Linked DNA regions of Homo sapiens: regions 1, 2, 3, 4, 6 and 7 are each linked to region 5. Evidence: promoter capture Hi-C in 16 types of primary human blood cells and fetal thymus (Javierre and others, 2016). All regions are on one chromosome and are shown on one strand. The core of a region is centred on a gene start or on the middle of the fragment in contact, and the rest is flanking DNA. Distances in the headings are between cores, read along the strand shown. Region 1 overlaps OXR1 (oxidation resistance 1). Region 2 holds the start of SYBU (syntabulin). Region 3 overlaps OXR1 (oxidation resistance 1). Region 4 overlaps ABRA (actin binding Rho activating protein). Region 5 holds the start of EMC2 (ER membrane protein complex subunit 2). Region 6 overlaps OXR1 (oxidation resistance 1). Region 7 overlaps OXR1 (oxidation resistance 1).

The links. The method cuts DNA at HindIII sites, captures the fragments that hold promoters and counts their contacts. A CHiCAGO score of 5 or more calls a contact.
Region 1: a fragment that was not itself captured here is called in contact with the fragment with the promoter of EMC2 in region 5 in 1 of 17 cell types (fetal thymus); the score reaches 6.8 in fetal thymus.
Region 2: a contact is called between the fragment with the promoter of SYBU here and the fragment with the promoter of EMC2 in region 5, in 2 of 17 cell types (total B cells and naive CD8 T cells). The highest score is 8.6, in total B cells.
Region 3: a fragment that was not itself captured here is called in contact with the fragment with the promoter of EMC2 in region 5 in 6 of 17 cell types (activated CD4 T cells, naive CD4 T cells, total B cells and 3 more); the score reaches 8.2 in activated CD4 T cells.
Region 4: a fragment that was not itself captured here is called in contact with the fragment with the promoter of EMC2 in region 5 in 1 of 17 cell types (naive CD4 T cells); the score reaches 7.7 in naive CD4 T cells.
Region 6: a contact is called between a fragment that was not itself captured here and the fragment with the promoter of EMC2 in region 5, in 2 of 17 cell types (total CD4 T cells and non-activated CD4 T cells). The highest score is 7.3, in total CD4 T cells.
Region 7: a contact is called between a fragment that was not itself captured here and the fragment with the promoter of EMC2 in region 5, in 1 of 17 cell types (activated CD4 T cells). The highest score is 5.1, in activated CD4 T cells.

The regions. Positions count from the first base shown.
Region 1 is chr8:106,721,418-106,724,413 of GRCh38, reverse strand. The region is part of intron 11 of OXR1 (oxidation resistance 1); the gene reads right to left. Among named protein-coding and RNA genes, the nearest start is that of ABRA, 47 kb to the left of the region's middle. The HindIII fragment of the contact is 3,703 bases long and covers 1-2,996 here.
Region 2 is chr8:109,643,409-109,646,691 of GRCh38, reverse strand. It overlaps SYBU (syntabulin), which reads left to right and starts at 1,870. Exons shown (of 7, transcript NM_001099754.2): 1 at 1,870-2,056. The coding sequence starts at 2,033. It overlaps SYBU-AS1 (SYBU antisense RNA 1), which reads right to left and starts at 2,563. Exons shown (of 2, transcript NR_161375.1): 1 at 2,470-2,563; 2 at 1-1,574. RefSeq lists enhancers at 1,186-1,505, 1,167-2,103 and a silencer at 1,616-2,105. The HindIII fragment of the contact is 4,274 bases long and covers 1-3,283 here.
Region 3 is chr8:106,666,115-106,669,362 of GRCh38, reverse strand. All of the region lies in intron 3 of OXR1 (oxidation resistance 1), which reads right to left. Among named protein-coding and RNA genes, the nearest start is that of OXR1-AS1, 10 kb to the right of the region's middle. The HindIII fragment of the contact is 2,952 bases long and covers 411-3,248 here.
Region 4 is chr8:106,759,825-106,762,814 of GRCh38, reverse strand. ABRA (actin binding Rho activating protein) reads left to right here. Exons shown (of 2, transcript NM_139166.5): 2 at 1,301-2,990. The coding sequence ends at 1,778. Among named protein-coding and RNA genes, the nearest start is that of ABRA, 8.9 kb to the left of the region's middle. The HindIII fragment of the contact is 1,333 bases long and covers 1,028-2,360 here.
Region 5 is chr8:108,442,059-108,445,200 of GRCh38, reverse strand. EMC2 (ER membrane protein complex subunit 2) reads right to left here and starts at 1,577. Exons shown (of 11, transcript NM_014673.5): 1 at 1,503-1,577. The coding sequence starts at 1,542. It overlaps LOC105375704 (a long non-coding RNA gene), which reads left to right and starts at 1,729. Exons shown (of 3, transcript XR_928530.4): 1 at 1,729-1,831. RefSeq lists a silencer at 1,624-1,743. The HindIII fragment of the contact is 5,303 bases long and covers 1,150-3,142 here.
Region 6 is chr8:106,649,894-106,653,175 of GRCh38, reverse strand. The region is part of intron 3 of OXR1 (oxidation resistance 1); the gene reads right to left. All of the region lies in intron 1 of OXR1-AS1 (OXR1 antisense RNA 1), which reads left to right. Among named protein-coding and RNA genes, the nearest start is that of OXR1-AS1, 6.2 kb to the left of the region's middle. The HindIII fragment of the contact is 7,815 bases long and covers 1-3,282 here.
Region 7 is chr8:106,737,593-106,740,970 of GRCh38, reverse strand. OXR1 (oxidation resistance 1) reads right to left here. Exons shown (of 17, transcript NM_001198533.2): 12 at 3,371-3,378; 13 at 1,388-1,513; 14 at 476-628. Among named protein-coding and RNA genes, the nearest start is that of ABRA, 31 kb to the left of the region's middle. The HindIII fragment of the contact is 584 bases long and covers 1,014-1,597 here.

The DNA.
Region 1 (2,996 bases), core at 69-2,568, 1.7 Mb after region 5:
GTCTCCTTCTTGCCCTTTCTGTTTTTGTAGTATTTATAATACATATTGCTAAGTCATTTAAATTTGCCTAGATATCCAAGAATTTGAAGCAGATGTCAATTGTTATTATTATAACATGATGGGATATAAAACAAAGCACTTTTGAAAACACTACCAGTTTACAAGTTGAACATAATCTGTTCTCATAATTCAGATATTCAATTTAATAATCCTTTTCCTTTACTTTATTCGAACTGAAGTTATTAAATTACCTTATATCTCTTCCTATTTGAGTTGGGAATGGTATGATAGAAGCTATAATATATAATTTACCCTACTCACTATTTATTATTTTATGCCAGGTGAGGTGGCTGTAATCCCAGTGCTTTGGGAGGCTGAGGCAGGAGGATTACTTGAGCCTAGAAGATTGAGACCAGCGTGGGCAACACAGCAAGACTCTATCTCTAAAAAAAAAAAATTAGCTGGATGAGGTGGCACATACCTGTAGTCCCATCTACTGAGGAGGATGAGGCAGGAGGACCTCTTGAGCCCAGGAGTTCGAGGATGCAGTGAGCTGTGAGTGTGCCATTGCATTCCAGCCTGGGCAACACAGCAAGACCCTTTCTCAAAAAATAATAATAAATTTAAAAATAAAGTAATATTTTAGAATTTTAATATTTAAAATCATAAACTAGTCTGTCACCCATAAATCCTCTTCTGACAGTCTATATTAGAGGTTTTTTGTTTGTTTGTTTTTTGTTTTGAGATGGAGTATTGCTCTGTTGCCCAGGCTGGAGTACAATGACATGATCTCTGCTCACTGTAACCTCCGCCTCCTGGGTTCAAGTGATTATCCTGCCTCAGAGTCCTGAGTAGCTGGGATCACAGGTGTGCGCCACCACGCCCGGCTAATTTTTGTATTTTTTTTTTTTTTTTTGAGACAGAGGCTTGCTCTGTCGCCCAGGCTGGAGTGCAGTGGCACGATCTCGGCTCACTGCAAGGTTCGCCTCCTGGGTTCATGCCATTCTCCTGCCTCAGCCTCCTGAGTAGCTGGGACTACAGGCATCCACCACCACACCTGGCTATTGTATTTTATTTTATATTTTTAGTAGAGACGGGGTTTCACCGTGTTAGCGAGGATGGTCTCGATCTCCTGACCTCATGATCCACCTGCCTCGGCCTCCCAAAGTGCTGGGATTACACGCATGAGCCACCGCACCTGGCCTAATTTTTGTATTTTTAATAGAGATGGGATTTCACCATATTGGCCAGGCTGGTCTCGAACTCCTGACCTCAGGTAATCTGCTTGCCTTGACCTCCCAAAATGCTGGGATTACAGGTGTGAGCCACCACGCCTGGCCTAGATAAAGATTTTTAATGGAAATGTTATAGCTCATAACTTTGGGCTAGCAATTGAAGAATATTTTTAACAGGGAAAGCAAAACACTAGTTCAAAACTCTCCTAAGGTCGATAACAACTTTAAGATAACATAATCAGTAGTCAAAACAGACCATATTAGGCATAAAACCTGGGTGCCAAATGCTAATAAAAGAAAACATAAACAGTCTAAAAGTTTCATTTGTAACTATACAGGTTCTCAACATAGAAATATAGTCATATATCACATAATGACAGGGATATGTTCTGAGAAATGCATCTTTAAGCAATTTCGTTTTGTGAACATCACAGTGTGTACTTACACAAACCTAAATGGAATAGCCTACCATATAACCAGGTTATACGGTATGGCCTATTACTTCTAGGTCATACCATATAGCACGTTACTGTACTGAATACTATAGGTGACTGTAACACAGTGATAAGGATTTGTGTATCAAAATATATCTAAACATAGAGAGGGTAATGCATTGTACTATGATGTTATGACATCACTAAGAGACAGCTCCATTATAATCTCAGGGGACCAACCAAAATGTCATTATGTGCTGCATGACCGTATTATGAAAGTCAGTACCTATCAACTAATAAATTCTAATTAAGTGTTTAATCCTTCTGATTTCTTTTTTAGATTTATTAAATTTCTTCTGGAGTTATAATTTGTAATATTATTTGATTATTCGATCAGTATTAAAAAAAAAGAATACTTAAAAAAATTCCCTTTATCTGAGAAATGTGATTTCTCAATGTAGTGACTTTATACACAAAGAATTCCTTCACTTTTGGACAAAATTAATTCTATGTGGATTTTGCTGGCTAGACTGAGAAGAGATCATGAGGGTTTTGTGCGTTTAACATATTAACTCAGTTTTAATTTTGGTGTTACTTGTACCTTAATAATAATAGAAAACATATGTTTAATAAAATGATCACCAGAATACTCACTGCCTGTCAGCTTAGGAAATAAGATATTAACCAAACAAGGGAAGTCTCCTGATAAGGTGTTTCTTAAAAGTTGCAGCAATAACCACGGTTGTAGAAGTTTTCTGGGAAACCTAATGAATGATCCTGACCATAACTCTACTTAATGATAGCTGTGAAAACAGAACTGGCTCCACAAGGCAATCACCACATAGTAGTGAAAAACCAAATCCAACAATGACATAATGTGATAAATGTTATGGCCTACAATGCTAAGAACGGGTTACATATTTTACACTTATATAACTAAAAGGGACAGCACTAAATACTAAAGTCAAAATGGAAAGACTATAAATTATTTTAAAAACTAAGCTGAAAGGCAGATTCTAACATATTTTGAATAATAGTATAGAGGTTTATATAGTAAGTAGTTAACATATTTACATTTATACTTAAATAATCTAAACTTCAATTATTGAGAAAATGTGACTAATGTCATGTACCTAAAAAGATACAGGTTGTTTCAAAACCCCAAAACTGTACAGAATGTCTTTTTATCAGTATTTTGGCAAAGGTGAGAAGCAAGAGGGAAGCCAGAGCAATTTTATTCAAATACGAATCATTTTAAGAATGAAAAATACTGTTACACACCCTATCAACACATAATCTTAGTAAATTCGTTCTTAAAATTTAATCA
Region 2 (3,283 bases), core at 621-3,120, 1.2 Mb before region 5:
AAGCATCCATTAACTTTAAAAGTTTGTTCTTATCTCACAGTATATGATCCCAGGCTCATAATTTTAGGAATAATAAGTTGTATGAATCATCCTGGACCATCACTTTCCTGAGGTCCATATTTGAAACAGCTGTGGGTGTAGAAAGTATGAATTAATCACCTCTTCTTCCCAAATAAAGAATCTTAAAATTACCAACCTCACTGCTTGAGAGAGCTAAGTAGATTGAAAAGGCATGAAGATTTATGGAGGAAGCTCTCTTTTGGAGTTATAGGAAGAAGGGAAATTGATTCCACTAATCCTCTGGCTTCAGGCTCTCTCTAGACTCACAACATATATTCTTAGGCTTGAGAGTTGAGGACTCAGAAATGCTGTTTGGAGGATGGATGAAAGGGGACAATGACCCTCAGTTTTCGAGGAGCACAGTCCTCCTATGTAGGACACTGGTGCATAAGGATCAGAGTGTCGCACTGCTTGGAATATTCTCCAATTCTGAATAAAGGGTATATAAGTCATTATACATGGTGAATTCCACCACCAGATAAGATTTAAGGGTAGCAATTGTAATAAATCAAGGCCCTTGGCCCAGCTGATGTACCCTATTCTAAGTCCCCAGTTGGACAGATTTTCGAGCTTTCTTAAACAAATTTGTGTGCATCACAAATGCTTTTTCTGCCTGTCATGTAAAAGGCATCAACAAATATTGACTGGATCATCTGGACCTGACTTAGCTGCCCTTTGGAAAGTTCTGTTCAATCAGCTGGATAGAGCTGTTTGTTTTCCTCACCTAACCCTCACAGCTATCCTAGAGGTAGGTATCACTATTATTATCCCTCAATTTAACAAGGGTAAATTTGAAGTTCAGAAGGGTCAAGAACCGTAGGCGTAGGCCACGCATGCAATGGCATCCGCATGTAATTCGAGCACTTTGAGAGGCCTGGACGGGATGATCCCTTGATCCCAGGAGTTAGAGGTTGCAGTGAGCCCTGATCGCGCCACTGTACTACAGCCTGGGCCACAGAACGAGATGCCGTTTCAACAGCAACGGAAAAAAAAAAAAACAAAAAACGAAACAACAACAAAAACTTTAGGCATAAAGGCACTCAGGCTGAAGGGACCGATTGGAGTGCTGGCTTGAACTCGTTTTTCTGAGTTCAATTCCAGTGCTCTTCCCTTAGCAGTGTGCTGGAGCTACTTCCTGGAGCCGGGCAGCTGCAGGGCAGCGCTGGGGAAAAGACTGTTCTCTGGCTACATAGCAGCCTGGCTTCTCCAAGCCGGAGGGAGCTGCGCTGACCACTGAAGGCCTTTCTGATGCAACCCCTTCCAAGTAGAATCCATCGCAGCCTTTCAGATCCCGGAACCCAGAGGCTGTGTCGGTCCTGACGCACTGGCTTGGCTGGGCTCCGGTACGAGAGGGATCTCTGCAGCTCTCGGGCGAGGCAGTTGTGGGGAGCTGTAGGCTGACTTAAGACCTGGAGGCCAAGGAGGGGTGGCCAGGGGAAAACTTTCTCTATTTTGTCTCTCTGTGATGTCGCAGCTTTTCTCAGTCACTCCATCCAACGCCACCCACTTCAAACCTGAGATCAAGTGCAAAAAAAAAAGAGGGTGGGGTCACCCCTGGGCTGGAGATGCCGCTAGCCGCAGCCTGCCTACACCGGGCCGAGCTCCTTGGAGAGGGAGGGACACCGGCTCTGGCTGGGGGGGCGCGGAGTGCCGTGGGGAAATCGGGCGGGTGGGGCGCGCCCAGGCGCGGTCGAGTTGCCCCGAAGGCCGCAGGTGAGGGAGGGCGTGGGAGGCGCCCCAGGAGCTGCCTCTAGCGAGTGCGGCACCACGTGTCCGGCCGGGGCGGGGTCGGGCGTGCCCTCGGAGCCCAGAGCAATCGGCGGCAGTGGCGGCGGCGGCGCGTTGGAGCCTCACCAAGAGCCGCCGCCCGCAGCCCGCGCCGGCTCAGCGCAGTCTCCTCGCTCCGTGCTCGCAGGTGCCTCCTCCTGGACGGCGGCAGCGGCGGCGCGAGGAGCCGGCGGGCAGCGGCGCGATGGGGCCCCTCCGCGAGAGCAAGGTAAGGAGCGCGGGGCAGTGCGGGCACTGGAGGGCGGGGAAGGCGGGCACTGCGGGGCGAGAAGCGGCGGGATGAGAGCTGGAGGGGTGACATTTAGAGTCTGGGGAAAGGTGGAAGGAGGTGGTGGTGGGGTCTGGAGAAGGCAGGAGGCATTGCTTAGGAGTTGAGATCCAGGAGATGGGGAGGTGGTACTGGAGGAATAGATTTTGGAGAATGACATGATTGGAGGGTTAATCCCACCTCCTGAAACTGGGACTGTGGGGTGTAGCTTTCAGTTGATATCCTGTGTGTGTGATGTGAATGAAAGGAATTTGATGCATCCGCGACTGGGAAAAGAGGACTCCCGCGTGTCAGTGACCCTGCCTTAGCTCAGGGTCTGCGGTGTGCCCGGCGGAGTGGCTGGCGCATGGTACCTGCTGGGCGGCAGATGTGCAGGGCGAATCCGAGGCTGCGTGCGGCTGGCGGCCCCCGGGTAGAGTGGATGCCTGAGGGCCCTCCGAAGTTCCCCATTGCTGAGGTTTACCCTTCAATTTATGCCATGTGCCGGCCTCCCAGAGGTGTTTATTTTGGCCGTGACCCTTCCTGGTAAGCCGGTGGAAGGAACAGTAGGTCATGTTTCGAAAGGGTGTTTGTTACCTAAGCCAAAGAGTCCCTTTCAGTGGCAGAGGTTGGAGGAAGCAGTGGAATTTTTGCAAAACGCTCCTCCTAGGAATCCATTTTCATAAGGCAGGGTGGTGGTGACCCTGCAAAGCACTGGATTTGAATTTCGTTCTACTTCTGGCATGGTGTGCAGAATTGCCTAAGCATCTCTACCCCATTTAGCCTGTTTCCTCATCTGAAAATAGGGACATTCATTGGTGTGCTCTCTATGTACAGTCTGGTGTGTAAAGATCAAATGAGAAAATGGTTGGAAAAGCACTTTATAAGTTGGAAAACATTGTGAAAATATTACTGTTACGCATTTTTAAAACCACGAAATGGCAGGGTACTTCATGCTGCGTTTTTAAGGAGAAAGAAAAATCTCTTCTTATGGATGTCCTGTAAGGAAAACAAAAATTAAAGATGATGTAAAAGGTGGAGCCATCTTCCCGAGTATCGGATTTGTGTTTGCTTTTCTGTTGGCAACAAGCCTTGTGTACCAGGATATTAACGAATAATTAAGATCCTGTCCAGAAGAGGAGGGATTTTAAAGATAATTGTGTGTGAGCTATCAGGAAATAACTGTTC
Region 3 (3,248 bases), core at 637-3,136, 1.8 Mb after region 5:
TTGAATTTTTGAAAGTAGAAATCTACTTTTACTGTCTTTACTCCATTATCTCCTACAGAATCCACAATGTATTGTAATATCTTCTCTTCCCCAGTTCACAATCCCCACCCTAAAATGAATAAATTAAATGGCAAATTTGATGGGCTTTTCCACTTTTTTTTTATCTGATCTCTGTGAAACATCCAAGAGACTTCTTCTGCATGTTCCTCTTTCCCTTTATTTGAAAGTATTTCACACTCCTCTTGGTCTCATACCCATTAATGTTCCTTTTTACTGCCCCTTTTCCTCCATCTAGACCTTAAAGTTGGCTCTCTTCTAAGTGAAAAGATCCATGATATTAAAGAGCTATAGAGCCTTGCTATTTAAAAGTGTGTTCCAGGGACCAGCTGCATTGACATCACCCAGAAGCTTACTGTGAATGTAAGATCTGAGGCTCAGTCCGGACCTACAGATTTACTATTGATTTGCACGCACAACACATTTGAGAGACATACAAATAGAGCTTCTGAAGAGATCAAAGACCTGCAGACTGCGTAAGTGACAGAAGAAATGGGCTTCCCTACATAACTTCATATTTGTGACAGTTAACACCAGCAGTTTTCAAATCTGTCAAACTAATATAATGGTTTCTAAATTAGTCATGGTGATAGACTATATTATTGTTACTAAGCCTGTATTCCTTCCTGTTGAGGAATATAAAATATACCTCACCATCCTATTGATGTCAGACATGGCCAACTTGCTTTGCCCAATGAACCATATATGTCTTCCAGGTGGAAGTGTTTGGAGCCAAAATTGTACTTCTTAGCTCTCTTTTCTATCTCAAAACCAGAGATCTTCCATATAGTGGCTGCTCCATCAACATGTATTCCAGAAGAAAGGTGTAATTCCTAAAAGATTATTCCACATAGACACATGTGGGCACATGAGTCAGGCTATTCCCATTTCTACTCTTAGTTAAATTATTATGCTTGGGAGCTTAAAAAATTATTCAACAATTCATGCATAAAAAGCAAATCATCTACTAGGGGAAATGGAAAAGAATCTGGCTGGCTTGCATGAGACTTCTCTACTGAAACATTACTCAGTGCTATAAGACTGAAATTATGCCAATTGTATCAAAAACTCCAGAATCAAGGAGGACATTCTAAAAGGTTACTAGAGAATATAGAACAATAATAAGTTATAAAAAAGTGGTTGAAAAACTAAGTATGAATGTTACAAACATGGACAATGTAAAAATAGTAAAATGAGTAAATATTAGGATGTGAGGAGGAGAAAAATGAGAAATGAAACTGCTAATGTCATACCAAAGCATGGTTAAATATATCCCACCTAAAACTGAAACAAGATTGTAATAACAGTATCTGTAATTTTTTTTCTTTTTTTTTTTTTTAGAATTTGCTTAAATTTAGACACACCCCTTAGGAATTAACCTCTTGTGGTGAATAAGTATTATCTTTCATTCTGTCACTCCCTCCTTCTAACCACCCATCCATCCTTCTATATGTACATACACATAGAAGTGATGTACATTACTTGGCAGTAATGCCTACCCAAATATTAACAGTATCTCTGGGTGACTGGATTAGAGGTGATTTTTAAAGTTCAGTATTTGCAACATATGACTTATTTATATATAGTATATATCAGGTTTATTTTAAAAATTAATTTCGTATAAAAGACTGGAAGCAAATATTCCACAATATTAATGGCTCTTAATTGTGGCATGTGAAAAAAGAATGATCATAATTCCAGTAGTTTATTTATTCCACAAGGACCTTGCCACACAGTCATTTTATCTTCAGCATCTTTCTCTCAGCATACAAACATGTCTTCCTTTTAGGAACTTTTCATTGTAAGTCACCTCAACTTTCCTAAGGTCTCAATACTATCCAGAGGTTGGCAGAAAACTTAAACATGCATTTCTTTTATTAACTTGCATCATAAAATAGGTGCATGCCCCAAGTACTTGTAAAGAAAAATAAATAAATAATAACCTGCTAAATTCAGCAAGAGTTTGATTGAGAGAAATATCATTAAGGAAAACAGAATGATGTAGAGTCCTTCACATCCTAAGTCAGTGGTTTTTAACCCTAGTTACATATTAGAATTCCGTAAGAAACTGTAAGTGGAGATCTTAAACAGAGATTTCAAGATCAAATCTTTGATTATAATCAGATCTTGGCATCAAAATTTTTTCATGGCTACCCAGGGAATTCTAATGTGTACCCTGCATTGGGACTCATTGCTATCAATGCTGCCCAATAAAACTTTCTGCAATGGTAAAAATGTTTTATATCTGCCTTGTATAATATGGTAGCCACTAGCCATCTGTCTTGTGAGTACTTGAAATGTCTCTAGTGAGACTGAAAACTGAATTTAAAGTTTTACTTAATTAAATTAATTTACATTAAAATAGCTACATGTGCCTAGTCACAAAGATTATTTGCATAGCCAAATTTTAGTCAGGCTGCTGAACCTTCTCCTATGCCAATCTGTTCACTTCCTTATAAAACCGAGTTTCAGCAAGAATCATGTTAAGGTCAGTGTAGCAGGAACCCCCACCCCGATCCTGGATATCTGATTACCTTCCGTATCTGATCAGTTTTCTCATCCTCCACTGTCCAGGTGAAGTCTGATTACTCTGGCCTGCCTTCAGCAAGAATCCTGGTAGGTCAGTTTCACCATAATACCCCTTATTCCTGACGTTACCTCTTAGCAATTGTCCATCCATCTATCCTTACTCTACTCCTTGGCTAGAAATTCCCACTTGCCCATTTTGTATTTGGAGTTGAGCCCAATCTCTCTCCTCAACTACAAAATCTCATTGCCACAGTCCCTATCCCTATTGCAATGGTCCTGAATAAAGTCTGTCTTATTGTGCTTTAGGAAGTATTATCAAATAATTTTTCCTTTAACACTAGTTGCTACCATATTAGATAGAGCAAATACAGAATCCTGAATCCAATTTTCTCAATCCAGTTCCTCATTTGCATTAGCTGCAATTCAGATACTCAATAGCCATATTTGCCTAGTGGCTACCATACTGGCCATCACAGATACAGACCATTTTCATCACCTCAAAAAATTCTATTGAGTAGTACTCTCAAAAAAATCCAAAACAGAGAGTCGTAACTATCTAAAATCTATAGTTTAAAATGTAAAACCTACCTCTCAGTTAAGATGGACTGTTAGATAACTGCATATTTGGATTAATTGTTTTCCCCTTGTACAGAAGTGCTTTT
Region 4 (2,990 bases), core at 445-2,944, 1.7 Mb after region 5:
TCTGGGATACACGTGCAGGATAGGATGTGCAAGTTTGTTGCATAGAAAAATGTGTGCCATGGTGGCTTGCTGCACCTATCAACCTGTCACCTAGGTATTAAGCCCCACATGCATTAGCTATTTATCCTGATGCTCTCCCTCCCCCTGACCCCCAACAGGCCCCGGTGTGTGCTGTTCCCCTCCCTGTGTCCATGTGTTCTCATAGATCAGCTCCCACTTACAGGTGAGAACATGTGGTGTTTGGTTTTCTGTTCCTGTGTTAGTTTGCTGCCCCATCCTAATATTAGGCTGGCATCCTCACGATACTACTAGTCTACACTTTCCAGAGTTGGTTTTTTAATAGAAAATGCATTCTGAATTCCAAAGATATACACATTTAAAACGCAACTTATTCCTTTATTAGACACTGTATGGGCCTGCTGAGTGGCATCACTACATAGTAGAAAGAGCATTGACCTTGGTCTAAGGCAGTCTTGCGTTTGAATCCTGCAACGTCACCTATTTAGGGCAGTATTTCACAGTTATAGACAGGCTCTGGAGCCAGCTTAACTTTGGTTCAAAGTCTAGTTCTACCACTTAACAGTTTTGTGACTTTAAGAAGTTACTTCATCTCTCTGGCCTCAGTTTCCTCATTTGTGAAGTAGGAATAGTAGTACCTATCTCAGGAAATGGTTGTGGGGAATATTAATAAAGCATTTAGAAGAATGCCAGTACATAGTGTTCAGTAAATGTTACTATTGCTAGCTAGTGTTTTCTATCTGTACAACTTCATATTTCGAAGTTTGTGGCATCATTGATACTAGTCTATATATGCTCTCACTGAAAAATCCACATATAAAAATCTATATATGATTAAATATTAAACTGCATGTGTAGTGGTAGAGTCCTTACCTTTGGGAAATAATTGGTTTCAGAGGTCCTCTAAGAACTAGATTCCTGAAAACACCTACATGATTTCAGTTCTAAAATGTTACCAATACTCAACTTAAAGATATACACATTTGCATTAACTTTGTGTGGGGAAGCTTTTTTCTTAAAATAGATTTTAATATCATTATAATGCTTAAAATCGTTATTCATAGAGAAAACAATCTAGAAGGATATGCACCAAACTAAGAACAACGGTGGGACTATGTATGATTTTTCTTCTTTCATTTCTAATTTTTTATATTGTGTTTATTTTTGTAGTGAAAAAATTATACTTACATTAAAGATGCATATGTGTGGGAAGTACAAAGGGAAAACAACACTCGGTGTTAACATATCTGAATCTTGATTGTTCACCCTCTCTCTACTTTAGGGTAAACAGATTTACAGAGAAACTCAACTGCAAAGCCCAACAGAAATATAGCCCAGTGGGCAACTTGAAAGGGAGATGGCAGCAGTGGGCTGATGAACACATACAATCCCAGAAGCTCAATCCTTTCAGTGAAGAGTTTGATTACGAGCTGGCCATGTCCACCCGCCTACACAAAGGAGATGAGGGCTATGGCCGCCCCAAAGAAGGAACCAAAACTGCTGAAAGGGCCAAGCGTGCTGAGGAGCACATCTACAGGGAAATGATGGACATGTGCTTCATTATCTGCACAATGGCTCGCCACAGACGAGATGGCAAGATCCAGGTTACTTTTGGAGATCTCTTTGACAGATACGTTCGTATTTCAGATAAAGTAGTGGGCATTCTCATGCGTGCCAGGAAACATGGACTGGTAGACTTTGAAGGAGAGATGCTATGGCAAGGCCGAGATGACCATGTTGTGATTACGCTACTCAAGTGAACCTTCAAAAACAAAAGCCAAATTTGGCCCACTATGGTCTTAATGCTAAATGCTCATGTAGGTAAAATGAAAATGCAAACTCTCTGTAATAAGTTAGTAAATATTAAACAATTTTTACATAAACGACTTTCTGGCATTCTATTTCTATCTAGAATGAGGAATTTTGGAGATTTTGAGAAGGCACAAAGCATTTCAGAAAGCACATAGAATGTTAATGTATAATAATAGTATTAATAGTTGAAATTCCACAGGGTGTTTTTGTTTTTGTTTTGAGACAGATTCTCTTTATGTCACCAAAGCTGGTCTTTTAACTCCTGGCCTCAAGTGATCCTCTCACCTCAGCCTCCCAAGTAGCTGGGATTATAGGCATGAGCAACAGCACCCAGCCACTTGTATATTTTAGGCAAAATATTTAGCTAGTCATTGTAGAAACTACTATAGATTTTTAATTAAACATTACATCTAAGAAGAATGCTGACTTGAGATAAATATCAGTAGAACATATAATAATGTGTCTTTATTTGGAAAAAAGAAAATACCATTAAGTTTGGTAAAACTAAACTTAAAATTTTTTCAGAAGCTTGACTTTGTATTATTGTTTATATCATAGCATCACTTACAAAACAAGCACATATATAAAAAGTTGTCAAGATGTTGCTGAAATTGTTGAAGTTCCTCTGTGGGCTTGGATTCTAACAGGTTTCCAGTAAGAGTTCACCTTCCTCTTGTTTGATTTCAGCAAATCACATAAAAACAGACACTTCCTGTCTTAGTACCAACAAAGGAAGGCACACCCTCACTAAAAGTAGAGCAGAGGTGAGAGATTCAGATTTACTTGCCTTTGTAGGACTTCTTGGAGAAGTTTATTGTTTCATTACATGTCAGCATATAACGAGTCAAGCTGCTTGCATTAACATCAATGCAATGATATGTATTTCTCCAACAATGGAGAAATACAGAAAATCTATGAAGTGGAATGTTCAGTATTAGAAAAATCCCATAGAATCATTGGTGAATTAAAAACAGATTTGAGACAGTTTAATGTTCCTCATACTGTAACAAAGAAAACTTTATGAAATGTTTAAGTCATAAAACTGCAATATTAGTTCTGCCAAAGTAAAAAATATACAATGATGATGGCAAGGAGAAAATCATTGGACATTAATGTGCCTATGTGATCTTAAAAACAAATGGAATGGAATGTGAGATTGC
Region 5 (3,142 bases), core at 328-2,827:
GTGTAGTAGTTATTATTTATTATTCCAAATTAATTACATCAATCCTCTTTAGAATGACCACAGGGTAAGGTCCAATTACTCAGTTAAATCACCTTGTCTGTTGGTAGTATACAGCTACTCGTCCCTCAGGATTTTATATATGCTACTATCATCTAGGAAACCTATAATGAACATACCTTCATAATAGCATTTTCTAAAAATTATGTAATATTTAAAACATTTTTTAAAAAGCATTAAAAATAACATCCATTTATCTACGACTCAGCTTACGGAAGATACCCTGACACAAGCCTTTTAAAACTGTGTGTTTACAGGTTTGTTTTCTCCATTAGATTGTGACTTCCTTGGAAGTGGGGACTGTGTGTTGACAGAGCCAAGATTTTGCAGTAAGAAATCAACACTGTTGTTTAATATAATGGAATCCCTCAATTCAGGTATAAATACTGAGATTCACAACGTGCTAGAGGCCATAAAGTCAATAAATCATTTAATTCAGTTCAAGTACAAAGAAATTTTGCTTTATTTGTAACGGATTTACAACTTTATAATAACTGATATATTTATTCACGATAAAACAGAAAATACAACTTTCGGTCCACATGTTTTCAGGTCATTATTAAAACATCCCAAGAAGGCATTCGTTAAGCAAATTAGCTACTGAAGTCTCCTGTATTATGTTAAATGCTGGGAATATGAATTCCAATTACACAAATTCCACGCCTTAATGAAACTCAAGTTTCTTAAGCACACAGAATTGATCCAAGGTTTGGCTGTTCCCAGATTTAAAGAACATATCCCACTCTAGATCAACTAAGGATAGGGAAAAGTGACCATCACACGTAAGCACTTACGTAGCCCAGAGTTAATTAGTTATTTTTCCCTTCAGAAAAGAAACTACTAGTAGGGAGTAAGAAAGAAGTTGTGTTGTGTGTGTAAATGTGTTTTGAGAAGGAGTGGGACAGAGACTAGACTAAAAGGAAAAGAAACTGGAAACCCGGGTTTAAGAAGAAAACTAAATGTAGAGTGGCATATGAGAATCACATTTGTTCACGCATCTTTTACACAGCTTTTCTGCACAGAGCTGTAATCCTTACACACCACTTAGTAAAGGGCCTTACAGGCCCTGTGTTTCTTGGCTCCAAAGAAGCTTCAGTAACCACCTATTCCGCCTCTTCCGCACCGCCCAGCAACCAGTTAGCGTGCGACAACCCCAGCCCCAAGTCCCTCCCGCCCGCCTCATAAATAAAAGCGGCCCCGGGACGCTGGACTGGCGCGGAGGAGGGCAGGTCAACCGAGGAGCAGACACCGTGGGAAACGCTGCAGAGTACGCGTCCGGGCCAAGGGAAGGGTCAGCCTCAGCCTCCACCTCAGCTTGGCCCGTACAGTGAGGGCTCTGGTACCAAAAAGACACCAGAGAACCCAGCTCCCCGAAAGCAGCGGGTACTCCCGAACGGCTTCCCAGCGCTTTTAGTCTTTCCGCACCCGCCCCCACCCGAAGTTACCTTCCCAAGTGACATCGTAAAGCTCTGAGACCTTCGCCATCTTCCCAGAACCTAGAGGCAGCGGGGTGAGAGGGCGGGGAGACGCAGTCACGTGACCCGCCACCGGGCGGTGGAGAGTTACGTAGCTTTTTCTCATTGGCCAAGAGAGCAGAGGGGGCGGTATCCGCCACGCACGTGCACGCGGCTCTGCGGAGGGGCTTTCGGGGAAGGGGGCGGAGCGAGCTGGGCGGAGCGAGCTGGACGGTGGACGGAGCTAGGTGGGCGGTGCGTGGCGCTCCCGCAATCTCAGGATACCCTGGCTGCTGGCGGGGCTACGGTGCTGGCTCGGGGTGAGGTGTGTGTGTGTGTTGACGTGGATTTTTAACAAATGCTGGGTTTTTAGTGTCCGTCAATCCTGGCTTTTCAGTTTTTTCTACCTAGGCTTGTTCATTCTCTTCACACTCCCTTAAGTACCCTTATTCTCTTCATGGCCGGCCGCAGTGCAGCCTTCTGCACGAATCCCTTATTTGTCCCCAACTTTCCTCCTTCCGTAATGGGATTTGCTTTCCGTTCACTTTTTAATCGACTAAACGGATAAACTCCAAAGTTTTGAGAGACTAAGTGGGATTCTTCCTTTGCGCTCTGAAGTTCCCTTGAATGCCCTCGCGCTAGCTTATACCCTTCATTAACGCTCGTCGTGCCTGTCATTGCTTCATCCATGTCTGCATGCCACACTAGGTTTCAAACTGTCGCGAGTATGTAAGTACTTATAAGGAATGAATGTACGAATGAGACCTTCACAGTTCCTGAACTTCGCTCCTCATTACTCCTGGGTGGATGGGGGAGCCTCCTTTCCCACCAGACTAATTGCTTTTAGGAAACTTTGGACGTCATCTCCTAGACTTAAGGAGAAATGTCTGGACAGGAAGTAAAAAATTTGAGGATGATAAGCGTATATTTAGTATTTGAAGCAATGGGGACATGAGATTGTAGAGGAAATATGTAAGCTGAGAAAAAACTAAAAATCACTGCAATGCAGCCGAAAGTTATTGGTCAGTAAAGAAGGGGCAGTTGATTTGAGAAGTAGAAATAATACTATCCCACAAGTCAAAAGAGTGGAGGGTTTTTTTTCTCAGCTTTATTGAGGTGTAATGGACAAAAATTGTGTATATTTAAGGTATACAAAGTAATGATTAGATGTAAATATACACTGTGAAATGATTACCACAAGCAAGCTAATTAACACATCTATCACCGTACATATTTCCTGTGTGTGTGTGTGTGTGTGTGTGTTGAGAACACTTAAAAATCTCTCAGCAAACTTCAAAGTATACAATACAGAATTATAACTGTAGTCACCATGCTGTACATTCGATCTCCAGAACATATTCATCTTACAACCAAAAGTTTGTACTATTTGACCAACATCTCTCCATTCCTCACCTGTCGGCTCCAGTCAACCGCAGAGGTTTTTTTGTTTGTTTGTTTAAAAAAAGGAAAAAAACCATCAAACCATAGACCCCAGAGAAGTCACTTAACAACAGAGAAGACTAGTGAATGTATATACTTGGATTCAATTCTGAATGAGCTGGCATTCTTTCTAAACAGACTTTTTAAAAATCTTTCATTCAAAAAGTTAAAAAATACTCAGAAATTCACAT
Region 6 (3,282 bases), core at 469-2,968, 1.8 Mb after region 5:
TAGAATTCACCATTGAAGCCATCTGGCTCTAGGCTTTTCTTTCTGGTAATATTTTAAATTACTATAATCATTTACCATATATATATATATATTTTTTTTTTTTTCTATTTCTCCTTGTGTCAGTCAGTTTTGGTAGTTTTGTCTTTCTAGGAATTTGTTCATTTAATGTAAGTCATCTAATTTGTTGTTCATAGTATTCCTTTATAATCCTGTTCATTTCTCTGATTTATATTAATATCAGCTCTTTTACTCCTAATTTTAGTAATTTGAGTCATCTCTGTTTTTTTCTTGCTCGATCTAAATCTTTGTCAATTTTGTTGCTCCTTGCAGAGAGCCAACTTGAGGTTTCATTAATGAGGTTTCTCTAATGTTTTTCTATTTCCTATTCCATTAATATCCATGCTAATCTTTATAATTTCCTTCTATTTGTTTTGTGTTTAGTATCTTCTATTTCCCCCCGCCGCCCCCCAACCTCCCTAGTTTCATAAGGCAGAAGGTTAGGCTATTGATTTGAAATCTTCTTTTTTTTTAATAATATAGGTTTTTACAGCTACATACCTCATTAGTTCTGTCCCACAAATTTTGGTATATTGTACTTTAGTTTTTATTTATCTCAAAGTAATTTTCCTTATGACTTATTATTTGACTCATTGGCTATTTAGGAGTATGTTGTTTAATTTCCACATGTTTGTGAATTTCCCAAATTTCTTTGTGTTTTTGACTTCTAACTTAATTTTACTGTAGTTAGAGAACATACTTGGTACAATTCCCCCATCCTTTCAAAATCATTGAGTTTTTTTATGGCCTAGTTTATAGTCTATCCTGGATAATATTCCATTTCCTTCATTTTTAAGGCCTTCCATTCATCACTGAATTTCTTGAAAATCCATATTTGCTGCCTCTCTTAAGCTCCTACCCAAGCTCACTCTCAGCAAATTGTCATCCATTCATTCAGCTTTAGTAAATGCCTACTCAGCACTAAGATAGAGAGTCCCTATTTCTATGGCACTTTCAAGCTGATGTTACACTCCCAAAGATCACCAGTGCCAGCACAAGATGTTTTTGTGCGATTAGAAAGAGATACCCCTGCAAATAGACACATTACAAAAAGGCATCTCTAATCCAAAAATGAAATTAAGAAAATAATTCCATTTATAGTAGCATCAAAAAGACAAAAATACTTAGAAATAAATCTATCCAAGGAGGAGCAAGACATTTACTGAAAAATACAAAACATAATTGAAAGAAGTTAAAGAAAATCTAAATAAATGGAAAGACATCCCATATACATGGACTAGAAAACTTAATATTGTTAAAATGGCAATTCAGAAATCAATATACAGATGCAATACACTCCCTATCAAAATTCCCCTGTTTTATTTACAGATATGGAAAATCCCATCCTCAAATTCATATAGAATTGCAAGGAACCCCAAAGAACCAACACAATATTTAAAAAGAAAAACAGAGTTGGGGGACTCATACTTCCCAATTTCAAAACTTTCTTCAAAGCTACAGTAATCAAAAACCGTAGTACTGGCGTAAGAATAGATGTACAGATTGATGAAATATAATTCAGGGTTCAGAAGTAAACACATACATTTAGGGAAAACAGACTGATTTTCAACAATGATGCCCAGGCCATTTAATGGGGAAAAATAGTGGCTTCAATAAATGGTGCAGTAACAACTCCATATTCACATACAAAAGAATGAGATTAAACCCTTACCTCACACCGTGGACAGAAATGAACTCAGAATAGATTAAAGACATAAGTGTATGACTTAAAACTATTAAATTCCTAGAAGAAAACATAAGGTGAATCTTCATGATCTTGGAATTGGCAGTGGACTCAGAGATTACACCAAAGGCATAAACAACAAATTTGCTTCATTACTAATAAGAGGAATGCAAATATCTGCCAATAAATACCATTTTCTTCTATCAGGATGGTGAAGATCAAAAAGTTTCAAGCCATTTTGCTAACAGTGGGTGGAAACTACCACTTTCATATATTACTAGTAGGGGAGCGAATAATGGTACTACCGTTTTGCAGGATCATCAAAGAGGGTCATTTTGCAGGATCTATCAACATTTTTAAAGCACACTCCTTTTGACTCAGTGTCCTCACTTCTTGATATTTATCCTACTGATGTATGAAATGATGCAATTTTCTATTTGCAATAGCAAAATGTTGAAAATAACCTAAGTGGTGACTAATAAGGAAATGATTAAATACAATATGACATGTCTATATAATGGAATATTATTCAGCCATTAAAAATAACTACACAGTTCCTGGTATAACTGATTATGAAAGAATCTTGAGAAAAGTATTTTTAAGGGGGAAAGGAAGATATAGAACACCACATGTCGTATGCTTCAATTTTTGAAAACAATGTGAAGTATGTGTAGTTATCCACATACAAATAAAACATTTCTGTTAGTATATATAAGAACCTAGTAATGGTGGTTGCTTTCTGAGAAAAGAAGTGGGTGGCTTAGGGTGTGATGAGAGAGAGCCTTAATTTTCACTGTGTGTATAATATGCATGTATCACCTATTCGAAAATGATTTTTTAAGTTAAAAAGGACCTGTTTCCCATAAGCCCATTCTATCTTGTAGGAGCTTGCTAGACTGTCCACTGCCAATCTGACTGTCATTCAGCTCCTATGAAAGGCATTTGAGATAGACTGCATTTCTCAATCATCAGTAAGAAAAATGTGATCTTTCTTAAGTTGTCTAAGAGTTACAGGCATATCAAGTTAGGTCATCTGCAGTCAGTATACCTAAGGCATGTCTCATCATTGAGAACATGGGCCCTTAGTCTAACTTCAGATCCTGGCTTTGCCACTTACTAGCAGCGTAATGGGAAAGTAACTGACTTAGCCTCTCTCTCCCTCAGGTTCCTTACCTGTAAAATAGAGATCATATAGAGATGTCGGGAAGATTTAATAACATCATGCAAGCAATATGCCTACAAGAGTGCCTGTAAAACATTAAGCCTTGGTAAATGTGAGCTATAATGCTTCCTATAAAATACCTTATCAAGTTATACCATTAGTGTTATATTCTGAATTTTATTGAAGTTCAACGCAAGAAATAATTGTGTGAGGAACTGATATTGAAGACATTATTCATTATGTTGTTATTTAGTGTATATAATTAAAAAATATTTTTGGCCAGGTGCGGTGACTCACACCTGTAATCCCAGCACTTTGGGAGGCCAAGGTGGGCGGATCATGAAGTCAGGAGGTCGAGACCATTCTGGCTAACACAGTG
Region 7 (3,378 bases), core at 56-2,555, 1.7 Mb after region 5:
CTCATTAGTTTCCAATTACAACTGACTTGAACTTGCTGTTTGAAGAACAAACCAATATTACTCTTATTTGTGCTTTTGTTCTGGCTATCACCTTCAAACAATTATCTTTAATCAAAACTTCACCCATTATTCAAGATTCTGTCAATTTCTACCTTTCCCATGAACCTCATTCTTATTTCCTCACTTTTTCTAGGTTCTAAGAAACCTACCATTTTCCCCACCATTAGAGATGTTGGTATGTGCAAATGTTCTTTTCTACCACTCTATAATCCCTTTGAAGGCAGTAATTCTTAATCATCATGCTCATATCTATCCTCTGTAATACTCAACATTGCCTTGCATATTAAAAGTACCCAGTAATTATCAGTTAAACAATAAAATGCACTAATAAAGTAATGTTTATCAAATAAATATGCTAAAAGTTACTGTTACTGCTCTTAAAGGATAAGCAATCTATGCAGTTGGTGTTTCATACCTGTCCATCACTGTCTTTAATCACCATCAGCACTGGGGTGTCTAAACCTGTCATTGTTCGATAAAGAGTTTTCAAGCTTGTGCCATGTTTTCCAGTACCATAAACAAGAGTCCATGGATAGCCAATTGTTCTTGGTGGAAGATGCTTGGTAAGCTTTAGAAAACAAAGTGTTAGTATTTACTTGATAGCTTGTTGTTCATTATGTAGAATACTAATGCCAGCTGGAATGTAATGGTGCCTATATAATATAGGCTATAAAAATAAATTAACAGTAGAAATTATTATTCTCAAAGATACTAAGATGATTGAAAAGTATTACACATTTCTCAGAATAAAATATTAATTGTCTATTAGGAAAATAAAGAATCACCCTGAACCAGACACAGATTAGAACAGAGATAAGAAACATAGATTACTTAATGCTTTTGCCTTCCATATTGAATTAACAAAAATACTTGATAGACTATTAGCTTGATTATTAAAATATCTCTTAAATAATAGGCTAGGGAGACAGACTATCCAAGTTAGGAATCAAGCTTTAATACTTCTCCCTGTGTGACCTTGAACAAGTTAATCGCTCTGTGCTCCCGATTTTTTAACTTAATAAAAAATGTGCATAATAAGAGCATCCAATTTCTACAGCTGTTGTAACAACTACATGAAATAATCCACATAAAGCAAGTAACAAGCACACAACAATAAAACAAATATTGGCTTTTAGTGTCTGCTTACCTAAATCTCCTAACATCTTAATTAACACTAGTTGCTATGTTTTGCTTACTCTTTCTTTTCACTGGAGTGGAATAGTAATAGCATTAACGCTGTTGCTTCAGAAACAACTAAAAAGAGGCTGTTTTACTCTCATGGGTACACACTCACACTCAGAAATGCACATATGTGAGCATGTCATACCTTTTCAATTTGATCTGGCAGTAAAAGTTCACTGGGATCACTTAGGTTTGGTCGAAAAGATTCAGACTCCAGGTCTGCTTTCACTGTAGCAACCTGCTTTGAATTTATGTCTTCCCTTGTAGTAATCTAAAACAGTAAATAGAGGTAGTGCATTAATGTAAACTTGTGACATGCTTTCAAAATTGTCAGACTTTTCAGATAAATAAAGCTTTATATCGTAGAAAATGTGGCTAAATCTTTAACCTTAAGATTTTATAGGGCAAAAGATGGCCCATATCTAATATCTATGATGTAGCCAATGTAGGAAAAGATTTTATAACAATATAAGCAGACGTTTTCTCATCCACTACATGAGGAACGACTGGTAGGAATGATAAATCCCCATATTTCTGTGTAAAGAAGATAGTTGCATGCATCTTTAATTAAGCCCTTGAAGGGCAAAAGTCAGCTAGCTGGCTTGCGCTGTGTGTGTGTGTGTGTGTGTGTGTGTGTGTGTGTGTGTGTGTGTATGCTATTTAAAATAGAATTCTTTCATGCTAACACAAAATTTGTCAAAAATAATGAACAAAACTTCCTGGGTGCCAAAATTTTAATGTAAAGAATAGTAGAATAAAAAAAAATAACTATTTTCTGTGAGTTGTGCATGTATTTGTTTCACTGACAAACGTTACCATTTTTTTAAATGCTTTCTTTTTATAACTTTCTAAACATTTAATTTTTTTCATCTACTTGGACCAAACAATAAATTTTACTGTTAATTTGTTCATAAATTTATTTTTTAAATTAGATTAATGTGTTGCATTACAAAGAATACATGCTTTTTTGCTTGGTGGAAATGATTTCACTGGTATTCTTAAAACGATAAGAATGTTAACTAAGTAAAAATAAAGCTTACTACTGCACAATATATTCTATTGGTGCTTACTTTTTAATATTAATTTTATTTTAATATATAAAACATAATAATATTAGAAAATAAAAGAAATGAAACATTATGAAACTTTTAAATTGGAAAATATGCAGAATTCTATTGGAGCAGATAACTAAAATGCAGCAACGCTCAGCAACTGTGATTCTATATGGGAATGAAATTCTTGCTAAATTATTTTGTTCCTTTAACAGGTTTCTTAACAAACCTGAGCAGCATATATTTGCAACCAATACATGTTCTATAAGTGTATTGTTTTTTGACAAGAAGCTAAATACTCATTCTTTCATATCATCATGTTTCACCCTTATTTTGATGATGTGAAAGGTAAAAAGAAAAAGAAAAAGAAACCCAAGGCAGCATTAGAAGCATTAAAAGAAAAAATTCAGGTCTAGCAGAGCCATGAAAGCATATCTTATTAAGAAGAAAGAAACACAGTATAATAGACACAACTTAAAAATGAGTTTTCAATTACATTGCTTTCTTGTTTCTAAAAAAAAAATCACAAAGATTATTTCACAGAATTTTAAGTAATTTATCCAGTTCTGTGTCTAAACTGTACTATTCCAATGTACTCCTAATACCAACCAAGAATGCCTCAAGAACAGTTTATCCTATTGAGATATTTGATGTGACGCTGATATAAATGAAATAGCCTTAAATAAAATATTTAAGCCTTGCTATTAAATTTTTTATTAGTTTTCCTATAGTACCATATCTTTCAGATTTTGTTTAGAAAAGATTCAATCTCAAAACCAACACCATTCTTCCAACGTTAAATGAATGAAAACTCCTCATCGCTGAAAGAAACACACAATACTGAGAATAATTCTGAAGTGACAGAACATTCTTCAGAATATTTTTCAAATGAAAAGATGACAGAAAAGATAATCCACAGCTCTTCACGGCAATACTATAACCTTTAATACAAAAAGGAATTTAATTTTAGTGCTGCAGTCAAAGCAAATTCTTCAAATGAGATTTGCCATGACAAAGAACACTAAAAACAGGGAGTATTTAGTCTCTGGAGGGGTTTAAACTACTGAAGGGGGCACCTGGAGGC